Linked DNA regions of Homo sapiens: region 1 is linked to region 2. Evidence: promoter capture Hi-C in 16 types of primary human blood cells and fetal thymus (Javierre and others, 2016). All regions are on one chromosome and are shown on one strand. Each heading gives the region's core, a stretch centred on a gene start or on the middle of the fragment in contact. The rest is flanking DNA. Distances are from core to core; before and after follow the strand shown.

Evidence for each region. The method cuts DNA at HindIII sites, captures the fragments that hold promoters and counts their contacts. A CHiCAGO score of 5 or more calls a contact.
Region 1: a contact is called between a fragment that was not itself captured here and the fragment with the promoter of CIROZ in region 2, in 3 of 17 cell types (endothelial precursors, M1 macrophages and M2 macrophages). The highest score is 7.0, in endothelial precursors.

Annotation. Positions count from the first base shown.
Region 1 is chr1:10,598,828-10,606,314 of GRCh38, reverse strand. PEX14 (peroxisomal biogenesis factor 14) reads right to left here. Exons shown (of 9, transcript NM_004565.3): 4 at 6,949-7,077. Among named protein-coding and RNA genes, the nearest start is that of PEX14, 130 kb to the right of the region's middle. RefSeq lists enhancers at 2,800-3,299, 3,300-3,801. The HindIII fragment of the contact is 1,042 bases long and covers 2,839-3,880 here.
Region 2 is chr1:10,979,886-10,987,536 of GRCh38, reverse strand. It overlaps CIROZ (ciliated left-right organizer protein containing ZP-N domains), which reads left to right and starts at 5,461. Exons shown (of 13, transcript NM_001170754.2): 1 at 5,461-5,525. The coding sequence starts at 5,500. The HindIII fragment of the contact is 7,392 bases long and covers 760-7,651 here.

The DNA of each region.
Region 1 (7,487 bases), core at 2,110-4,609, 380 kb after region 2:
CTCTCGCTGGCTGGACAGCAGGTGGGATAGTTGGAGCTGAAGCATTCACACTGCACCACGAGACGGATGAGAGCCAGTCAGGAATGCAGAGCAGTGAGGCAGAGTAGGGTTCCTGCAGACCACAGAGCCTCCTGGCAGCCTGGGCTGCCTACATTTATGTAATAGAGAAAAATTCCTCTCTCTTTAAGCCACTCTTGTTTGGAGTTCTCTGTCACCTGTAGCAGAATTTTCTAAAACTAACACACTGTCAGCACAGCCAGAATCCTAACTGCCATCAACACCAAAGACTTGTAATGGTCCAAGAAACCTAAGGAAAGGATCACTTCATTTCGGTTCCTTCCCGTGATACTTACCCTCTTCAACATCCGCGAATGGCATTTATTCAGCCCCCATGTGGCACCACACCAGGCAGAACACACAGCAACAAAATGGAGAGGGTGCTTGCTAATCCAAACCGGCACCACGGACAAAAGAAAACACAATTTCCTCAAAATTAAAGAAATACTTTCTTCATATACAAACCAGTAACTTTCAGGTAGCAAAAAGAGAGATTTGTCTGCTAAACCAGCAGAGAAAGAAATGGAAGCATGAGAGAGAAATGGAAGAGACAGAGAGAGAGGTGGAGGCGACATTTGCTATTTTGCTTTCTGACGGGAACCCCGAGGCCACCCATGCATGCTTTCTGTTTACTGTCACCTCAGTATCACTTACGCACAGGCCACCCTGGCCCCGGGCCTTTGCTGTTCCCTCTCCACAGTGATGTCTTCCTTGACACCTTGGGTCTACCTTATGGCTGACTGATCTTCAAAGCCAGTTCAAGTCCTGCCCCTTCTAGAAAGCCTTGCCTAAGACTAGCGTTCTGGGAATTTCCTTTGTTCTCAAATTCTGAAAGCTCTCAACATTCTCACCATGCAAGGTGACGTGGGATGGTCTTCCCTGTCTTTCTCCAAGCAATGGAGGGCTTCCCTCTACGATGAACAGCAGCTCCTGAAGGTGGGTCCCATCCCCTACTTCTTCCATAGCTTGCCCAGAGCAGTCTGCACCAGCTGGGCTCACAGACCGTATCACCGACCGACCACCAGGGCAGCTCGTCCACATGATAGCCCTTCCATTCTCAAGCACATTTCCACCCCTGTTAATCCATTCCACAAGCATTTCTAGAACACCTGCTCAGTCAGAGCCTCAGGCCACTAGATTTTTTTAAGCCTCAGAACTCACAGTTTAATAGGGGAGACACTGGAATAAATGTTTAAGTGCAGTGGGGCGGGGTGGGGAGTCTAGGGGCCTGAGGGGAGCTTCCCTCCAAGTCAGAATGGAGGCACTGGAAAGACTCCCTGGAGGAGCGAGTGCTGGCCCAACCATGGAGAACAACAGTGAGCACACAGGGTAGGCACTACAGGCTCGGCACAAGAACAATGGCCTCCGGCTGATGCCCCCCCACCCATGTCTCCCCTAACTAACCTCATGGCACCTGCTGAGATGATACAAATAATTTTAATATTAATCTAAGAATAAAATGGCCAAATAGGTCGTATGGCACAAAAATAATTAGATGATGCATTTCAAAGTAAAACATCACTGTGCTTTTGGCTGTCCTCTGTCGGAGCTGACAGAGCCACCCTTTCTCCAGCCATTTCCTCTGACTCTCATCCCATGCTCCAGCCACTCTGAACAACTCAGAGTTTCTTTCTTTTTGGTTTTTTAGAGGCAGGGCCTTGCTCTGGAGCCCAGGCTGGAGTGCAGGGGTACAACCATGGTTCACTGCAGACTCGATCTCCTGGGCTCAAGCAATCCTCCCACCTCAGCCTCCCAAGTACACGCACCACCATGCCTGGCTAGTTTTGTTTTTTAAATTTTTTTACAGAGATGGCATCTCACTATGTTGCCCAGGCTGGTCTTGAACTCCTAGCTTCAAAGTGCTCCTCCTGTCTCAGCCTCTCAAAGAGTTGGGATTACAGGCGCCACGTCCAACAACCTGGAGTTTCTTAAATTCATCAGTTTCACATCTATATGCTTTTGTGTTAGCCTGGAATGCTCTTGTCTATCCTGTCTGATCACTGAACCAAGCAGCCCGCCACATCCAGTTAGACATCTGCTCTCTGAAGCTTCCCGTCGCCTCTTCTGTGCCACCGTCCTCACCGGGACCACCTGACAGGCACTGCTATGTTGGCCTAACCGTCTTTCCTACCAGACGGGAGCAACCAGAGAGAGCGACCAGGTCTTGTTAGTCTCTTTAGCCCAGGGGTCTGGCACACAGTAGGCATTCAATAACAATGCTTGCTCAGTGAATTAAGATAACCACAGATAAGTTTGTGTTACTACACAGGGCTACAAAAGAAATAAACAGAGGAATAACTCACTCTCTCTCAGGATTTCTAATCAAATGGTTCAAAACCTTTCACCGGCCTCAGATGCTGACATCCTATTTTGAGAAGAAGCAACTGAAGCTCTAGGTCAGTCTTTGAAGGGGTTTAAATTGTTTATCAAAGACAGTGGAGGGAAAATGTTCAAATCTAAGAAGAAATTATTATCCTACAAAATTTACACTGGTCCTGCTTATATCTCAAAGCTTCTTGGTCTCTCTGGGAGGACGAAGACAAATCAGCTTGGCGTGAATCAATCAACCAGCATTTATCAGACCTCTGCTCAGGACTGGGCTAGGCCTGCACCTATACACATGCACTGACTCCCGATGTAAAGCCAGACAAGAAACCAAAATGAGAAATGGAGAATTTCAAATCTTCTCTCGAATCACAGCCTGACTTCTCCTGAACTGTACCAACTTTCTTCTAGCCCCCGAGAGCACTGGTTTATGCTCACACCAGGTGACACCAAGCTTCCCCTTGGTGCCAACCTCCTATCACTTTCACAAAAGCCTTCCCTGACTCTAGCCCACATTAATTCTTCTCTTTTCTATATTTCAGAATTTCAGAATTTCTTGTCTGTATAATTAATTTTGGCATTAAATCACAACATCTTATATTATTATCCTTTTCTTAAGAGTTTATCTTATCTTTCCCAAAGAGCTTAGCAAGATGCTTAAAGATCAGGTTTTGGATCTCTCGCATGATATAGTACTGACCGTATAGTAGATGGTTAATAAAAATACTGAGAAATTGAACTGTTACTATTTGGGCAGGTCTCTACGTTCTCTCTGCCAACACTGGCATTTGCTAACATCTCAAGGTCAACCACATTCACCAAAGAACAGAGATGCCAAAAGAGGCACTCAGTGGCACACCTGCCACTGAGCAGGTGGGCCAGCAGGTTCAAAGGTGAAGAGCACTGGGCTCCCTGGGGTGGTCTTGGAAAAGCTACCCTACCCTGAGACCTGAGTGTTTGGGGCTAGGCCCAGGGGATCCCATTTTCTAGCCTTGGGCTCAGAGATGGAATGTCCGTAAAAAGCCAAGAAATGGGAAGGAAAAGGCTGCCGGGGATCTAGATGTAAAATCGGCAGGAACACACATGAATAGAGGCCATAAATCCCTCCCGACGCAGACAATGCCTCAGTGATAAGCATGCAGATTGTGCACCTAGTTCAGAAACTCCCCTGAGTTTGCTTGTAATTAAGGGGGTTAGAAAAGTAAAAAAATATATAAACCCAATTAATCATTTAAATATTTAAAGTCAGATTTTTCCCTCACTCCAGGATTAGTATATTTCATAATGCCAGCAGCAGACAGCCCTGGTTTTTACTGGGGTTCATTTTGGAGCATGTTTAAACTAGTCAGATTGAGTGATGCTTCCAGCAACTAATCGCATGTCAAATAAAAGATATTTTATGTAATAAATTACCGCTACAAGTAATTCAAATGTCATTTATCAGTTTTATTATCAGTCAGGCAAAGTCTTGTTTCTCTATATTAATCAAAATCAAGCTTTTTTTTTTTTTAAGCAGTTTTGACACCTCTTGGCAAAAGTACAGAAGTGAAGAGGTAGAGTCACCCCCGGAGTGAGAGGAGCAATGTAACGGTATGAGAAGAATGAAGCTCAATGATGACAACTAAAAACTTCAGGTATTTAAAATTATCATTACCATTGTTTTTACACTAGTGTCAAAGCAGGAAGAAGTCTGTGTCTAAGAATGTGTATTTTATTTTTAGGGGCTGGAAGGCTCTTAAAAATATTCCTACCTAAATACCTCAACGTGTATTGCTTTTTCTCAGAGCGATCTGGACATGAGTATGATTTAAATAACTGAATTGCCCCTCCCCACCCCATTCTTTTGCCTCTTTCAGAAAGACTAACAGTTTAACCCTTTGTGTCTATGGAAAGTAGGTGAACATATGATGTTTTAGGCCAACTCTGTGATCAACCAGAACAATTTGTTCTGAGTAAGAAGTTTCCAAGTAGCCGAGAGACCTGTTCGGTATTAAGCCACTGGAGGAAACAGCTGGAACAGAACAGATGTGCATCTTAGAAAATTCTGCACCCCAGCTGCCGCTGCCTATCCTCAACAAATCCCATTACACGGCTGGGCCCAGGGACACAACTAAAGAAAAAGTGTGGAGACTCAGCCTTTGGTTAAAAAGAAGCACATAAAGTCAGCTTAGGACCCAAAGCAACTACAATGGATTGGAAAAAATGCTGGCCAGGAAGGAGAAAGGAGCCCCAAGCTGACAAGTCACAGGTGCTAACCCAGTAGCCCAAATACAGGACAAGGCTCACCACTGAAGCTCTGCAACCTGCAGTGGGTCACCCATGCAAGGCACTGACAGATTGACACACTTGAGCACACACTCCCTGGCCTCCCCCATTCAGCCTTCTGTGGACAGCCAAAGGAGGAGATCTCTAAATAAGATCCGTAACACAGACAGCAGATTCCAACCCACTGGCTGGCCCTTCAGCAAGTCCGGAGAAGAGAAGGCCTTTTTGGCTCTACTGCCAAGATCACACCTGCCTAGCTGCAGCTGAGCTGGATGAAAACAGTGCTGAGGTGAGGGAAAGAAGGCAGCTTCAGACCAGGTGCTGGGGGATCAAAACGAATCTGTCATTTTAAAATATGCCTTTTAAAATCTGATATCTAACACTTTTTTTTTTTTTTTTTTTTTTGAGACAGAGTCTTGCTCTTGTCACCCAAGCTGGAGTGCAATGGCATGATCTCAGCTCATTGCAACCTCCACCTCCTCGGTTCAAGCGATTCTCCTGCCTCAGCCTCCTGAGTAGCTGGGATTACAAGCACCCGCCACCATGCCCAGCTAATTTTTGTATTTTTATTAGAGACAGGGTTTTGCCACATTGGCCAGGCTGGTCTCCAACTCCTGACCTCAAGTGATCCGCCCGCCTTGGCCTCCCAAAGTGCTGGGATTACAGGCGTGAGCCACCGCGCCCGGCCTGTCTGTTTTTTTGAGATGGAGTTTTGCTCTTGTTGCCCAGGGTGGTCTCGAACTCCTGACCTCATGATCCACCCGCCTCGGCCTCCCAAAGTGCTGGGATTACAGGCGGGAGCCACTGCGCCCGGCCTTAAAATCTGATATCTAACAGTTTTAAATCATTTTTTGCAAAAATAAAACTTCTGAGAATAACAATTATAGAAAAGGCATTTTGAGAGATCACAGATCCAGTATTGAGTTTCTTTATTTTATTTTATTTTTTTTGAGACAGAGTCTCACTCTGTCACCTAGGCTGGAGTGCAGCGGCGTGATCTCGGCTCACTGCAACTTCCACCTCCTGGGTTTAAGTGATTCTCCTGCCTCAGCCCCCTAAGGAGCTGGGATTACAGGCGTGTGCCACCACGCCCGGCTAATTTTTTGTATTTTTAGTAGAGACACGGTTTCACCACGTTGGCCAGGCTGGTCTCGAACTCCTGACCTCAAGTGATCCGCCTGCCTTGGCCTCTCAAAGTGTTGGGATTACAGATGTGAGCCACTGCACCCTGCCTGTTTGTTTTTTTGAGGCAGAGTTTCGCTCTTGTTGCCCAGTCTGGAGTGCAGTGGCACGATCTCGGCTCACTGCAACCTCCACCTCCCGGGTTCAAGCAATTCTCCTTCCTCAGCCTCCTGAGTAGCAGGGATTACAGGCGCCTGCCACCACATCTGGCTAATTTTTTGTATTTTTAGTAGAGACAGGGTTTCATCATGTTGGCCGGGCTGGTCTCGAACTCCTGACCTCAGGTGATCCACCCGCCTCAGCCTCCCAAAGTGCAGGGATTAGAGGCGTGAGCCAACGTGCCCGGCCCAATGCTGAGTTTCATTAAAGAAACAAAATGGAGCTATTTTCCATAACTTTGTAGTCAATTTTAGCCTTTTTAAACTTTTTATAAGTGATTTCAAGGAGGGCTTCTGGCTGCATTTTGGAGGTATGCATTTATAACTTGTTTGAAGAAACTTTATTCCTATAGTAGCTTTCATTTAAGACAACGAAAGACCCCTCATGGGTCATGATCTCGTATAATTAAAAGAAACATTCAAAAAGGAACTTCATGTTTTAACCTGAAATTCCCTAACAGACCGCTACTACATAAACGTACAAAGTATAGCCAGGACAAGGGAGGGAGGGAAATGGAGGCTGACCTAAACTTACAAATATTAACTTAAAAAAATAGAAGTGGGAGACAGGTTATTGCAGTGAGCAAACAAGAATGCACCCATGAGTCAGATGGTCACGCTGTTTTTAGTGAAACAGTAACATTCAAAAGCACTGGTATGAGGAGATGGGAACAGAATCAATAAATAGTTGTACAGGTTTTCTGCATGTAACCAAAATACCTGAAACAACAATAAAATCATTTATTCTGATCCCTTGTCTCTTCTTAAACCTTTGTCACATACTTTAAAAAGTTTGTCTAGAAGACTGGGGTGTGTCACATTCCTTGGGAAAAACCCAAGAGCTTTCTGCTGCTCCCAGTTTCTCCTGGTTTGCTAAGTCTGGGAGATACAGAACACTGCCCTTTGGCCAGAGTCCTGAATCCCAATCAAGGTTAAGCAGGAGTTTGAGCGGGTGACTTACTGTATGGCTGAGATATGAGGTGAGGGGGCTGGACAGGAACCACCTGTGTGGCTGGGCCCAAGGACGAAGGCTCATCGGCAGCAGTGCCCGACTGCTGGAAGGCCATATCAATCTCTTCATCTGTCAGCCCTGGGGAGAAGAGGACATCATTGCAGGTGAGTACCTTTTGTCAGTGTCCATAGCTGCAACAGAATCTTCACTGAGCAAAGACCTTTACAGCCACAGAATGCCTCGCATCCTAGTAAGTTGCCTCCCCGATTTCAGATTCTCCGGAACCTCTCTCAGTTGCAATTTAACCTTAAGCGACAGAATATTAGCCTCAACACTGCTTCCAAATGTGGCTCATTCAATTTCCTTAATTTATCCTTGAGTTTATTGCTGCTTTTGAAGTCGCTCGGTACTGCAATTCTCCATTCTTCCCCCGAAAACAGATACCATCAACTGCAAATGTGGCTCATTTTAATCTGTAATGGTGTTAAAAAAAAAAGAGGGGAAAAAACTAACAATAATGCACGAAAACAGACAGGGAAACAAAAAAC
Region 2 (7,651 bases), core at 4,212-6,711:
TGCTTCTTTCTTTCTTTCTTTCTTTCTTTCTTTCTTTCTTTCTTTCTTTCTTTCTTTCTTTCTTTCTTTCTTTCTTCCTTCCTTCCTTCCTTCCTTCCTTCCTTCCTTCCTTCCTTTCTTTCTTTCTTTCTTTTCTTTCTTTCTCTTTCTTTCTTTCCTTTCTTTCTTTCTTTCTTTCTCTTTCTCTTTCTCTCTTTCTCTCTTTCTTTCTCTCTTTCTTTCTTTCTTTTTTTTCAGACAGGGTCTCTTGCTCTGTCGCCCAGGCTGGAGTGCAGTGGCACAATCTCGGCTCAATGCAACCTCCGCCTCCCTGGTTCAAGCGATTCTTGCACCTCAGCCTCCCAAGTAGCTGGAATTACAGGCGCCCGCCACCATGTCTGGCTAATTTTTGTGTTTTTAGTAGAGGTGGGGTTTCTCCATGTTGGCCAGGCTGGTCTCAAACTCCCGACCTCAGGTGATCCACCTGCTGTGGCCTCCCAAAGTGCTGGGATTACAGGCGTGAGCCACCGCGCCCGGTCTCATGATTCTAATAGAGCAAAAAAGACCGTGTTTCACCAACAGGCTGCATTGCCCATTCACCTTCTGCCTCTCAGGCAACCAAGTATCTAGTTATTTTGTGTGTTTGTAACTGACTGATCAGGAGGAACTTCAGCAAGCCTGGTAATAGTTTGGTTAAATGTTGGTTTCCTCCTCATAAAAGTGGTAAGTAATGGTGCCAGATCTCAGCAAGATGGACATCCTGAAAAGGCCTGGGAAGCTTGGCAGTTGGAATCAATATGTATATTTTTAGTAATCGTTAACCTCTAAGTATCAAAGGAGACCAGTGAGTGGGTCAGTGGTTTCTGCTTTTGAAAAACCAGCTCAGTGGGTATTTGCAAGAGAAGGAAGGTGTTAATAAGAAAACCATGGGGAAAACCGTGCTGGGGCTGACTTGGCCAATTCTCACGGCTTCCAACTATTGCATAAAAGCTACTCTTGACCGGGCGCGGTGGCTCACGCCTGTAATCCCAGCACTTTGGGAGGCTGAGACGGGTGGATCACGAGGTCAGGAGATCAAGACCATCCTGGCTAACACGGTGAAACACCGACTCTACTAAAAACACACACAAAAAAATGAGCCAGGCTTGATGACGCACGCCTGTGGTCCCAGCTACTCAGGAGGCTGAGGCAGGAGAATCACTTAAACCCGGGAGGCAGAGGTTGCAGTGAGCTGAGATTGCATCACTGCACTCCAGCCTGGGTGACAGAGCGAGACTGTCTCAAAAAAAAAAAAAAAAGAAAGCTATTTTGAAAATGTGATTTTCCCAAATGGAGAAATGAAATTTGAGCTCCACTGGAAAGACCCCAATGAAATTGCTTTCTCTAAAAATATCTAAGACGGGAGCCCCTACTGCGTGTGTGTGTGTGCGCGCGCATTTCTAGGAGTGTGTGGGGCATATGCTAAGAGTTTTGTATAGGGTTGTGTGTGTAGGTGGGTTTCAGGGTGTGTGTGTAGAGATGTCTGTGGCTATGTTTATAGGTGTGTGCGTGTGTGTGTAGGAGGAATGGGGTTTAGGGTATCAGATTAGGAAAGAAAACCTGTTTTTCAATTCCTGTTTCTTCTTCTCTTTTTAAGATTTAAACAACAGCTCCAGGGTGGTCCTTGCAGGTTCTCTGAGTGAGCTGTGTACCAGTGATGTTTGCCCTGGCTTTGGCGTTTCTGTTTGAGGCCTTATGAAGTGGGCCAGGGCATCTGGGCCTCCTCCAGGGCCCGTGAGGGTTTCACCAGCTGTGTGTTCTGATCCTGCCTGCTTCTGTTTGGTGTGATGAGGGCCTTTCACCTGAGCGTGAACAGATCCTGGTGACAACCAGCTTCCATGCACCACTCTGGGTCTCCACTTCCAACTCCATGTCTTCTTAGGCGGCTCATGATAAATCCCGAGCAATTTGGGATTAAAGGAAAAGTTGGTCAACAAAAAGATGAGTTAAAAAGAGAAACAGGGCTGGGTGTGGTGGCTCACGCTTGTAATCCCAGCACTTTGGGAGGCTGAGGCGGGTGGATCTCGAGGTCAGGAATTTAAGTTCAGCCTGGCCAAGATGGTGAAACCCCGCCTCTACTAAAAATACAAAAAATTAGCCAGGCGTGGTGGCAGGTGCCTGTAATCCCAGCTACTCGGGAGGATGAGGCAGAGAATTGCTTGAACCTGGGAGGTGGAGGTTGCAGTGAGCAGAGATCGTGCCACTGCACTCCAGCCTGGGTGACAGAGTGAAACTCCGTCTCAAAAAAAGAAAAGAAAAAGAGAAACAGGCTGGGTGCAGTGGCTCACACCTGTAATCTCAGCACTCTGGAAGCCTGAGGCAGGAGAATCACTTGAGCCTAGAAGTTTGAGACCAGCCTGGACAACGTAGTGGTATCTTTCGTACGGACCCCATCTCAGAGACCTCTGGTCTCTGTCTCTTGTTTGTTTGTTTTTTGAGATAGGGTCTTGCTCTGTCGCCCGGGCTGGAGTGCAGTGGTGTGATCTCAGCTCACTGCAACCTCTGCCTCCTGGGTTCAAGTGATTCTCGTGCCTCAACCTCCCGAGTAGCTAGAATGAGTGATATGCGCCATGATGCCTGGCTAATTTTTGTATTTTTAGTAGAGATGGGGTTTCACCATGTTGGCCAGGCTGGCCTCAAACTCCTGACCTCAAGTGATCTGCCCACCTCAGCCTCCCAATGTGCTGGGATTACAGGCGTGAGCCACCGTGGCTGTTCCCTCTGGTCTCTTTTGTCTCTAGAAAAAATTTAAAAATCATCCAAGCATGGTGGTGTGTGCCTGTATTCTCAGTTACTCAGGAGGCTGAAACAGGAGGATTGCTTGAACCCAGGAGGTCGAGGCTGCAGTGAACCGTGATTGCACCATTGCACTCATGCCTGGGTGACAGAGTAGGACCCTGTCTCAAAGAAAAAAAAAAAAGCCAAATCCCAGATATGTGGGAATGTGACCTTATTTAGAAATAGGGTCTTTGCTGATGCAATCAAGTTAAGTGAGGTCATACTGGATTAGGCTGGCCCTTAATCCAGTAATTAGAGTCTTTATAAGAAGAGGAAAATTGGGGCCGGGCGTGGTGGCTCAGGCCTGTAATCCCAGCACTTAGTGCCCCTGTACTCCAGCCCGGTGACAGAGTGAGACTCTCTCTCAAAAAAAAAAAAAAGAAAAAGAAAAATGTGGACAGAGACACCCAGGAAGAATACCATATGCTGGTGACGGAGGCAGAGATGGGAGTGATGCAGCTACAAGCCCAGGACACCCAGGACTGCCACCAGCCACTAGAAGCTAGGAAGAGGCAGGGAACGACCCTCCCCTGGGATCTTTAGAGAGATCGTGGCCCTGCTGACACCTGGATTTTGGACTTCTGGCCTCTAAACCTGGGAGATAATTAGTTTCTGGTTTTTTTTTTTTTTTTTGAGATGGAGTTTCGCTCATCACCCAGGCTAGAATGCAGTGGCGCCATCTTGGATCACTTGCAACCTCCGCCTCCTGGGTTCAAGCGATTCTCCTGCCTCAGCCTCCTGAGTAGCTGGGATTACAGGCGTGTGCCATCATGCCCGGCTAATTTTTGTAATTTTAGTAGAGATGGGGTTTCGCCATATTGGCCAGGCTGGTCTCGAACTCCTGACCTCAGGTGATCTGCCAACCTCAGCCTCCTAAAATGTTGGGATTACAGGCTCTCTTTCTCTCTCTCCCTCTCTGTCTCTCTTCCTGAGATACAATCTTGCTCTGTTGCCCAGGCTGGAGTGAGCCACTGTGCCTGGCTTCCTCGACTTTCAATAATGGCAAGTATTTGGGGCGGGGGGAGGAAGGGATAAACACAGATAAAATGGAATAGTTAAAATCAAGACTTTTTTTTTTTTTCACTTGCAAAGGGTATTAGGAACCATCTAGTCCTAAATCCTCATTTTGCAGGGATATTTGTTTGCAAGGGCTGCCACGACAGAGTACCACAGACTTGGGATTTACACACCAATTGATTTCTTCACAGTTCTAGAGGCTAGGAGTCTGAGATCAAGGTGCAGGCAGGGCTGGTTTCTCCGGAGCTGCCTCTCTGGCTCACAGCTGGCCATCTTCTCCCTGTGTCCTCACACCGTCATTCCTCCGTATGTGTCCGTGCCCTAATCTCCTCTTCCTTTTTTTTTTTTTTTTTGAGACGGAGTCTTATTGTATCGCCCAGGCTGGAGTGCAATGGCACGATCTCAGCTGTCTGCAATCTCTGCCTTCCAGGTTCAAGCGATTCTCCTGCCTCAGCCTCCAGAGTAGCTGGGATTACAGGTGCCCACCACCAAGCCCGGCTATTTTTTGTATTTTTGGTAGAGACAGGGTTTCACCATGTTGGCCAGGCTGGTCTCAAACTCCTGACCTGATGATCCACCCACCTCAGCCTCCCAAAGTGCTAGGATTACAGGCGTGAGTCACTGCGCCTGGTCTTTTTTTTTTTTTTTTTTTTTTTTTTTTTTTTTTTTTTTTTTTTTAGACGGAGTTTTGCTCTTGTCACCCAGGCTGCAGTACAATGGTACGATCTTGGCTCACTGCAACCTCCATCTCCCGGGTTCAAGCAATTCTCCTGCCTTAACTTCCCAAGTAGCTGGGATTACAGGCGTGCACCCCCACACCTGGCTAGTTTTGTATTTTTAGTAGAGATAAGGTTTCACCATGTTGGCCAGGCTGGTCTCGAAGTCCTGACATCAGGTGATCAGCCTGCCTCGCCCTCCCAAATCACTGGGATTATGGGCATGAGTGACTGTGCCCGGCCCCTTTTTTTTTTTTTTTTAGACAGGGTCTTGTTCTGTTGCCCAGGCTGGAGTGCAGTAGCACAATCAGGGCTCACTGCAGCCTCAACCTCCTGGGCTCAAGCAATCCTCTCACCTCAGCCTCCTGAGTAGCTAGGACCACAGGTGTGTGCCACCATGCCCAGCTAGTTTTTAAATTTTTTGTAGAGACAGGGTCTTGCCATGTTCCCCTGGCTTGTTTCGAACTCCTGACCTCAAACAATCTGCCCATCTCTGCATCCCAAAATGCTGGGGTTACAGGCATGAGCCACCATGCCTGGCCCCTCAGCTCCTTTTGAACTCTGCCAGGAGGGGCCTGGAGCAGGGTTCTGGGAAGCCCCATCAAGACAGCGTGACTGTTCCTCCGGTGAAGCTCAGTTTCTTAGCTTCTTTCCTTCCTTGGGCACAGAGACAGGCTTCTCCCGGGAGCGGAGAATGAGGGCCTGCACTCCAGCCTCAGTGGATCAATTCATCTTCAGCCTTCTGATCCGCAATCTTATTTTGAGCTCCCACGGCTGAAGCAATTCATCTCACCCATGCAGAGGGATGGGGAGAAGCTGAGAGTGTTGACACCCACCTGTGTTTTCTGGCACCTGAGTGACCCGAGACCTGCACTGGAGGGGAAGGGGAGGAGCCAACCTTTCGTTTAGTTGCTTGGAACTGCTTCAGATTAAATTCTCCCAGGGCAGGAGAGAGCTGCTGGGCCTGAGGATGTGGGGGTCCCCAGCACTTGCCTGGTAAGTGTCCCTTATTCAGGAATTGGGAGAAGCCAGTGGCATGCTTAGTGTGCCCACACTCCTTGAAGAAGCCAAATATCTTCCATCAGAATCAGAAGCCTTGCATCTAAGAGGGAAGGGGGCCAAATGGGTGAGGGGCCCAGATGCATGGATGCCTTGGGAAGGGCTGACTTTCTCAGGTGAGGTCCGGCCACAGTCTCTCCCACCTTTCTCATGCTCCTGTCATCCCTTGTTCTGGAATTCCAGTCCTCCCATCTTGGGAAGGATTTCCAGAAGATTGGGAGAAAACAGAACACGTCTTCCTTGTCCTAGAGGGTCCTTAAAACAAAACAAATTAGGGGTCAAGTTGACCAAGAGATGCTTGATTTCAAGGAGTTTTCAAATGATAGGAGTTGTGGTCGCTAGCTATTCGATTGTAAGGATTAGGAGAAAATTTCATTTTCCTTCCTTCCCTCCCTTCCTTCCTTCCCTCCCTGCCTTCCTTCCTTTCTCCTTCCTTCCTTCCCTTTCCTTTCTTTTCTCTTTCTCTCTCTCTCTCCCTCTCTGTCTCTCCTTCTTCCTGAGATAGAGTCTTGCTCTGTTGCCCAGGCTGGAGTGCAGTGGCAAGATCATAGTTCACTGTCATCTCTTAACTCCTGGGCTCAAGTGATCATCCCACTTTAGCCTCCTGAGTAGCTGGGACCATAGGCATGTGCCACCACACTTTGGTAATTTTTTAATTTTTTTGTAGAGACAGGGTCTTACTGTGTTGCCCAGGCTGGTCTTAAACTCCTGGGTTCAAGCCATCCTCCTGTCTCGGCCTCCCAAAGTATTGGGATTACGGGCATGACTCACTGCACTTGGCCAAAATCTCATTTTCCTTGGCAACAGAATTGCTACCTCTTTTCCCCATCTGAGATGCATTTTTAAGAGATACTTTAAAAAGCTCCTGAGAGTGGGAAGTGAAGCCTCCCAGGCCAGCTGGAATGTCACAATAGCTGGCTTGTGGCCTTTGGGCCGTGGACTGCAGGGCTTTTGTTGGGCGTTTTGTGAGGTTGAAGTCTGTAGACAATGAAGGCAGTGGAGAAGCTGAGTGGGGCTTTGTGGGGCTGGGCGAGCAAGGGGGAGGTCCGGGCCCTGTCCTGGGGACCCATTGCCTTCTCCTGGATGCCCCATGAGGGGGCTCAGCTTTGGGGGATGGAGCATCATGTCTCCCCCCAGACTGGGATGGGGCAGTTCTGGGTCTGAGAAGTGAGGGGGAAAAACCCAAACCCACATCTTTCTCCCGATTGATGCTCAAGGAGGAGAACAGGAGCAGGCATCAGACGGAGGGGAGAGCTGTCTACCCCCCACCTGCCACCGGGCCGATTCCAGACAGCATTCCCTGTGTAACAGCAGAGTCGGGGTCCCTGGCAAGGCCGGGACTCAGCACCAGAGTCAGCCACTTTCCTTTTCCCCAAGATTATTCTTCTGGTCCTGTCTCAGATTTACTCGCTCTGGGAGAACCTTCCTTCAAGACCAATTGCCCCAGCCAGGTTTTTGTTTTGCAAATTAATCAACTAATAATAGCGCCTCCCCGCTGCTGGGAGAGGAATTCCGCATTGGGCTCAGTGTCCAGGCAGCAGAGCCCAGGGCGGGTACCCGGCCGTCCATGGGAGAGGCTCGCCACAGGCGCTTCTGAATTCAGCGAATGAAGCGGGGCAGCGGGGCAGCCAGGCAGCCGCAAGCTCCTCCCAGCTCAAAGGCTGCAGGCTCAGCTTAGATTCCAGGCTGGGGAACCAGTCCTGTCATTCTTTGCCAACCCACTCTGGGGAGACTGTGGGCCCTGGCATTTGGCCTCCCTGGGCTGGGCCTGAGGCCCTGGCCCTCTGCCCACCCAGGAATCGAATGGCTCAACGAGGGCAGCCCTAGAAGGAAATGCAGCACCCATTCCTGCCTTTTCACATTGCTTTTTAAACTGTTAACTTTCTTTCTTTCTTTTTTTTGAGACGGAGTTTTGCTCTTGTTGCCCAGGCTGGAGCGCAATGGTGAGATCTCGGCTCACCACAACCTCCACCTCCCAGGTTCAAGCGATTTTCCTGCCTCAGCCTCCTGAGTAGCTGGGATTACAGGCATGCGCCACCGCACCTGGCTAATTTCGTATTTTT